Linked DNA regions of Homo sapiens: region 2 is linked to region 1. Evidence: promoter capture Hi-C in human tissues and cell types (Jung and others, 2019). All regions are on one chromosome and are shown on one strand. The core of a region is centred on a gene start or on the middle of the fragment in contact, and the rest is flanking DNA. Distances in the headings are between cores, read along the strand shown.

Region 1 (4,051 bases), core at 1-2,500:
CAATTAAATCAAATTAATACCTGGATTCCTGCCACTGGTATCCTATTTTCTGGAAACCTAAATTTGTGGTTTCATATAAAAATTGATTTTTTTCCCCTCATGATTTAAAATCTGAAAGAAAAGACTTACCATTAATATGAGTTTTTGATATTTTTGTTTTAGGTCTGATATATTTGCAGATGGGTCTGCTCCCAGGATGCTGTACCAATCCTTTTTTGGCATCTGCTCAACCGCCATCATCCATGGAACCAGAAGTGGGCCTTCTCAGATTAGCTGAATAGAAATATTAATGACAATTCATCACAGTTTGCCATGTATCTAAGAAAAAATTAAGTACTGCCCTTGTAAATTCTTTAGTATTTAGTCGAGTAAATCATGATTATAATGCAAACCTGAGGAAGCACAGATTTTCATTTAAAATGCCCCAAGAATTCCAGGTATAAGTGTACCGACAAGTATGGAAAACGTGTTAGGTATTTCACGATATATATTTATACTTTAATTAATGAACAGCATTAAAAAAAAGAATTTTATAATGAACCAGGTGGTGTATGAACCTCTAAGAAGGTATTTCTGCTAGTCTTATGATAAAACTGGCACACAAGTAAGCACCCACTAAACACGCTGGAGGAGCTTAATGAATATTTACAAAATGAACGAATAAAAAAAAAGCAAAACAGAACATCAAAGAATTAAAATAAATTTGGGGGCATTCCTTCTGAAAGTTTCTCGTTTGCTTTTCCTCCAGATTGTCTGGAGAGCATGATATGGGAAATAACGTCAGCACCAGCTGGTAGAGAACAAGAGTCCCCTGTTATTGGAGAGGCGCTGAGACCTCGCAAAGACAGAGTGAAACTCTCTACGCGAGGATGCCCCAGTCTTCCACGCTCCAGAAGAGAGACCCTACCAGGAGCCCCAGAAATCAGGCAACCTCTTCCCACAGCTATATACACTTAACGAAACAGCCGGGGCCTCCTCAAGCTCGGGACTTGGGAATCTTCTCCATTCACAGTCGGCTTTACCCACCCAGCCATTGGCGGGCACCCTCTCCGCGCTTTATACGACATCAGACCTACCTAACTTCACATAGGCGCTGCTACCCACTCCTCGCCTGCTGTCGGCCAGAACTCCGGACCGGCTTCTTCTTCCGCCGGAAGTCACTGTTCCGACGTGTTCGCGTTTCTGGCCGAGCTGATGTGGCCGTGGCACAGCTCAGAAGCGACGCTCCGCCCACCCCGACGCGGTCTCTATGGTAACCGGTCACCGCTTCTATGGAGTGGCGTTTACTACCAGTAAGTTCCCAAACTGTGAAGAAAGGCGCCTTTGGCTTCGCTCTAAGTCTCTCTTTTCCGGGCCCCGCGACTGTCGCTTCTCTCCTCCTCCTCAGCGAGCACCCCCTCGCCATCCCAGGCTTTCCCCGCCTTTTTCAAAGCTTCCTCCGTTTACCGTACCCTGAGCTACTCTCAATCTTTTCGGTTGGTGCTTGAACTCTGGGGTGAGAGAGGGGTGCGGGGGCAAGGATGTGAGAAGGATGAGGAGACCTGATGCCACTCTCGTCCCTACAGTTCCTTTACAATGTTCTAATTCGAAAATTAAAAGAACTAAAACCTATGCCAGGTAGGGCTAGATGTGCGGGGGATGGGGTCGGTTTAATTTTTTCTGCAGAAGATATTCGACGTAATTATTAATATTTCTTTTAGACCTTAGCAACCAACTTACAACATAAAAACGTTCCAAAATTCTTTCACATTTGCTATTTCACTTCGCTTTCATTTCAACCCAGTGAGACAAGTAAGGCAGGTGCCATTATTCCCACTTTATAGATGAGGAAAGAAATCAAGGATCAAGGCCAAACAGCTAGTTGGGTAGGGGCAGAACAAGGACTCAGCAAGTCTACACATTCCCAGGGCAGCTATGCTATCTTTCAAGCTTACAGAAAAAAGCAGAATGAACTGTTCTTCTTCGAAGCAGTTAGGGGGCACTGCATATGGGCACTGTTGGGGTTTGTTATTGTTGCTGGTGGTGGTGGTGGTGGTGGTGGTGGTGTTTTTCTCACCTTTCTTTCTTCTCCCTTTCTTGATTCCTGTGTTTCCTTTTATTACTTCTTTGTGCTGCTTACTTTACATTAACACCTCTTCCTAGCATTGTACCTGGAGATGAAAACTACATCTTATTTTTGGCCAGCATGACATAAATTTCACTTGGAGATGTTAAAATGGTTTTGTTGTTACTGCTTTGATTTTGCTTTCCTTCTTTTTTAAACTTCTACCAATCTGAGTTTGAGAAGCAGTCAAGATAAACTTAAGCAGAATAAATAAAATAATCTAATATGATCAGTTATTTAATGATGTTATGAACTATAAAGAATAACTGAATGAAACAAGCAAGTTTAAAAATCTAAAGATGAAAGCATAGATTAGGTTCTCCACAGGGTTTTGTCATGTTTAAAGGCAGATACAAAGAGCATCTGGTTTTAGTCCTGGCTGCATCATACTTTCTTGTGTGGCCTCATGAAAATACCTAAAGCAATGGAATTAAGTAGTGTGGTGAATGCTTTTCTAAACAGTACTGTCAGAATGATGCCACCTTGAACATCTCTAGCCCTCAAACTCCCTTCTGTCCACAGCTTGGTTCTTCCTTGTGTAGGTAGATATGCTCCGGTACTCCAGGTTTTTTGTTTTTTACAGCAAAAGCATTTTATTTTGATTTACTATTTATTAGGTTATTGTGTTACCTTATTTATTTATTGGGGTTTGGAAAGTAAGAAATAGTTTTTTTCCCCAGCAATACCAAATATTTTGTCATTTCATCTCTACATACTTTAGTTTGCATCCCTAAAATGTACCAACTTTTTCTTTTATCTCCATAATGTCATTATTGGACTGTCACATAATATCTAGACCTTACTTACATTTCCACGGTTAATTGAAAATGTCTTTTTCTGGTTGGTTTGCTTGACTCAGAATCAGACAAAATGTACACTTTCCATTTAGCTGTTCTGTCTCTTAAATATCTTTTAAATTATAGCAGTCCCATTTCTTCACTAGAACCTTGTTTTTTTCTTTACTTGCCATTGGCTTACTGAATGAGAACAGTTGTCTTACACTCTGCTTATACCAAAATAAACTTCTTAAAACAATTTTTACATAAATTTCTGATCATTAAGCTTCCTTCATTTTTCATTTTATAGAGCAGTACTTTCCAATAGAAATATAATGTAAGCCGTAAGTGCAAGCTACAAAATTAATTAATCTAAAAATTATTAAGGCGATACTTTACATTCTTTTCTCCTACTAAGTCTTCAAAAGCTGGTATGTATTGTGCCCGAACACACCTCAATTTGAACTAGCACATTTCAAATGCTCAGTAGCCACATGTGACTAGTGGCTACTGTATCCAGCAGGGCAGGTCTAGAGAATAAAGTCCTAACTCCTTAACCTAGCATTCAAGTTACCTCTTCAATATGATCCTTACTTTTCCAACCTCCCCTATTATCTCCATACATTAAACATTTAAACAATTGGATCTTTTCATGGTACTGAAATCAACCCAACAGTCCCATAGACAGGGTTTTGTTTGTTTGTTTAGTTTTGTTTATTGGGGTTTTTTAAATTAATAAACATAGAAATGGACACTTCTTTTCTGAAAGCTTGAAACTTGCATTTGTTTTATCTTTTTGTTTGCTTGTTTGAGACAGAGTCTTGCCCTGGTGTCCAGTCTGGAGTGCAGTGGCATGATCTCAGCTCACTGCAGCCTCTACCTCCCAGGCTCAAGTCATCTGCCCACCTCAGATTCCCAAGTAGTTGGGACCACAGGTGCATGCCACTATGCCTGGCTAATGTTTGTATTTTTTTTTGTAGAGATGGAGTTTCACCATGTTGGCCAGGCTGGTCTGGAACTCTTGAGCTCAAGCAATCTGCCTGCCTCAGCCTCCCAAAGTGCTGAGATTACAGGCATGCGCCACTGCGCCCAGCCACATTTTGTTGATCTTTATCTCAGTTCCTTCCTCAAGAAAGGATGCCCAGACCTCTCAACAAGTATCAAAGAGCTG
Region 2 (3,982 bases), core at 1,373-3,872, 38 kb before region 1:
CAGACCATACATATATGGTCAACTGAGTTTCAACAAGGCTGCCACAGCAATTCAATGAGGAAAGGTAAGTATATAACAAATTGTTTCGAAACAACTGGATATCCCTGTGGGAGAAAAAATAACCTCAATCCTTCTAATTCCATAAACCAAACTTAATTCAGAATGAATCATACACATAAAAGTAATCCATAAAGGCAACAAGAGAATATCTTTGCCTCTTAGGGTAGGCACACAGTGCTTTGACAGAAAATAAAAAGCATAAACTGTGTAACACAAAACTGATAAACTGAACTTCATCAAATTTTAAAACCTTCTGCTCATCAAAGATACCACTAAGGAAATGAATAAACAAGCCACAGACTGAGAGAAAATACTGGCTGCATATATTTCTAACAAAGGACTTGTATCAGAATACATGAATAAAACCTATAAATCAATGATAAAAAGACAAAACTAATTAAAAACCAGATGAATAAAATTGAACAGATACTTTTTCAAAGAAAACTGATGAACAGACAGTGTGCACATGAACTTTTTTATTAGTTATTAGGAAATAAACTTTTTATTAGTTATTAGGAAAATGCAAATTAAAATCACAATGAGATATTACTACATATCTAAAAGAATGGCTAAAATAAAAATGACTGGCTGGGTGTGGTGGTGGCTCATGCCTGTAATCCCAGCACTTTGGGAGGCCAAGGTGGGCAGATCACCTGAGGTCAGGAGTTTGAGACTAGCCTGACCACCATGGTGAAACCCAGTTTTACTAAAAATACAAAAATTAGCCAGGTGTGGTGGCACGCACCAGTAGTCCCAGCTACCCAGGAGGCGAGGCACAAGAATTGCTTAAACTGGGGAGGTAGAGGTTGCAGTGAGCGGAGATGATGCCACTGCACTCCAGCCTAAATGACACAGCAAGCCTCTGTCTCAAAAAAAAAAAAAAGAAAAAGAAAAAAAAATGCTGATAACACCAAGTGTTGATAAGATATGAAATAACCAGAATTCTCATATACTGCTGACAGGAAACAATTTGGCAATTGCTTATAAAGTTACATATACATTTACTCCATGATCAATAAAAATGAAAATCACACATCCACGAAAAGATTCATAGAAGAATAGATTAACAGTCTTATTCATAACAGTCTTACTAAAACACTGGAACCATAAATGTCTATCAACTGCAGAATAGGTAAATACATTTTATTTAAATCCATAGAAGAGAAATATTCCTCAACAATTAAAAAAGAACAAATTATGACACACTCAATAACACAAATGAGTATCTAAAATATATGTTAAGTAAAAGAAGCAAGAACAAAAAGTACATACTGTATGATTACATGAACATGAAATCCCAATTTAGGTACATTTAATCTGTGGCGACAGAAACCAAAAAGTTGGTTTCCAGGTGAGAACAGGTAGTGGAAATTAAGAAAGAGGGGCATGAGGGAACTTGCTGGAGGCACAGAAATGTGCTATATCTTATTTGGGGTGGTATTTACATGATATCAAACTCACCAAACTTAACACTTAAGATCTGTGCATTTTTCATTTTATGTTGACAATATCAACAGAAAAACATCTTCAGACATGTCTAAATTTTTAAAAAGGAATTTAGCAAATCTTTCTAAGCCATAAAGGAAAAATAAGGAATTTCTTCCATTAATAGAAAAACAAGTACAACAGAAAACCAAAAAATTAATGGAAAAACTAACATGAATTAGTGAAAAGCTTGAATTACACACTAGTTTATGGAAATTGTTTTATTACTTTCAAGCACATTTGCCAACTCTAATAACTTCAAAACATTTTAAAAGGCTAAGCATTGTTGAGTAGAAAGCCAAAATGCATCCAAAATTAAAATACCATAAATATGTCACAATATTAGAAATACTGAGAGTGATAGTATCTGTGTGATTCTTTATTATACAAAGACATCTATTTCCAAAATTTCAGTAAAGTGCTATTTTATTACTCTGAAATGACTTCACACCTATAACTGTATGATCTAAGTAATTTCCTCAAATTTTGGGGAAAATTTTCAATTACATAAACTTAAATTCTTCTTTAAATTACCATATCATTCATTGAGAATAAGAAAAACTAACACAAAAATAGATTAAGAAACTTTCTTGATACAAAAATAAAGGATCATTCATGGTACTACAAAAGATATACAGGAAATGATATAATATTTCATCAGGATTGGTATGTGTTATCTGTTTTCTAAATGACTATTTCATGGATAAGTAACACTTCAGTTATGAAATCTTAATTCTCATCAGCTGAGATTTTATGGCAATGGGCTGTCCAGTATGAAATATTTTATTTTGATTTTAAAGTCTCTCTACATATTAAGTCTAAGTGCTTTCTAAATTACTAATTCCAGAGTGACTGTCACAATGTGTCACCTCAGTGCTACTCAAAATGTGGTCCTCAGAACTGCAGCATCAGCATCATCTGAGAGCTTGTTACAAATATCAATTCTTGGGACTCACCTCAAATCTTCAGAGGGAGGACTCCAGAATCTCTGTTTCACCAAGCTCTCCAAGCAACTGTTACGCGTGCTAAAATTTGAGAAGCACACTGTTTGCCTTGACTGCTTAAAACAAGGAATTCATGGGCAAGTCAGAAGATGAGTGCTTCACAAAAATTTTCCTGTGACAGATGCGTCCTTCCAAGTATGTACACCAAAAAGAGGGGGAAAAAATCCAATAACCTGTAACACCACAATGAAAATTGCAATGTGTTTCAAGTCGGAATTTTTTTTATATTTGATACCTTTCGTTCACTAATCATAAATGTCAACTTCTTCATTCCACTGTTTGTATTGATACCATCTTATGTCACAGATGAAGATGCTGATGAAATGTGAACAATATGCCAGTGGTATTTTAACCTGTTTATTTTTTTTTTTTTAAGAGAGGGGCATAATTTGTATCAGGCTTCACCTACTTAACACTAATGATGATACCCACTGATAAATTTAGCACAGAAACAAGTTTTTCAACTAAGAAATGAAGCATGTAAAATTATGAAAATAGCATCATACAATGCAGTGTGAAAATTCTAGCAACTTCTAAAAGATTTTAGTGAAAAATTTTATATATATATATATATATTTTTTTTTTTTTTTTTTTTTTTGAGATGGGATCTCTCTCTGTCATCTGGGCTGGAGTGTAATGGAGTGATCCTGGCTCACTGCAACCTCTGCCTCCCAGGCTCAAGCGATCCTCCCGCCTCAGCCTCCCAAGTAGCTGGAACCACAGGCATATACCACCGCACCTGGCTAATTTTTGTATTTTCTGTAGAGATGAGGTTTCCATATTGCCCAGGCTGGTCTCCAACTCCAAGACTCAAGTAATCCATCCACCTTGTGAATATTATATATTCATTAGCTCCAAATGATATTTTCTATTGGCTACACAACATATAAAGTTGAAATGAAATGATATTTCTTTACAGTAAACACGTAAGAGTTTTATGGTAAAGTGGCTACATATATTAATCCTTAACTACACACTTGTGATTGTGCTGTTTTGATACATAAAATATAAACTATACATAAGAAGTAACAATAAACCATGAAAAGGACTCTGGGCAAATCTGATTACACAGAAATCCCCAAATAGGCTAATATTACTTGATTTATCAATGTGGCACTTGAGGACATAGCACTTTGGTTTTCCCTATGTATTAATAGATGAGTTTTAGTACCATCAATAGGATGCTAGCTCTCTGTCTCTAGCTTCAAATTTTCTTGAATTCTAGAACCAAATTTTGAAATACTTTCTAGAAGCTACCTTGTCAGCACAAGTTTAATATGTTTGATATCCAATATATTATCCAGACTCTAAAATTTGTTTATCCTCCTGTTGAATTCCTTGCTCTGTTAAAAAATAACTCCACGCTCAATAAATGCTAAATGAATGGATGAGAGGGGAAAAATTTTTCTAATAATCCAGACTATCAATATTAG

What was found. The method cuts DNA at HindIII sites, captures the fragments that hold promoters and counts their contacts. A contact is called where the count stands out against the background at its distance.
Region 2: a contact is called between a fragment that was not itself captured here and the fragment with the promoter of DCDC1 in region 1, in 1 of the 25 tissues and cell types used here (adrenal gland).

What each region holds. Positions count from the first base shown.
Region 1 is chr11:31,366,938-31,370,988 of GRCh38, reverse strand. It overlaps DCDC1 (doublecortin domain containing 1), which reads left to right and starts at 1,250. Exons shown (of 39, transcript NM_001387274.1): 1 at 1,250-1,292. DNAJC24 (DnaJ heat shock protein family (Hsp40) member C24) reads right to left here and starts at 1,129. Exons shown (of 5, transcript NM_181706.5): 1 at 1,077-1,129; 2 at 130-273. The coding sequence starts at 240. RefSeq lists an enhancer at 837-1,316. The HindIII fragment of the contact is 7,317 bases long and covers 1-1,681 here.
Region 2 is chr11:31,406,850-31,410,831 of GRCh38, reverse strand. All of the region lies in intron 2 of DNAJC24 (DnaJ heat shock protein family (Hsp40) member C24), which reads right to left. Among named protein-coding and RNA genes, the nearest start is that of DNAJC24, 39 kb to the right of the region's middle. The HindIII fragment of the contact is 5,144 bases long and covers 51-3,982 here.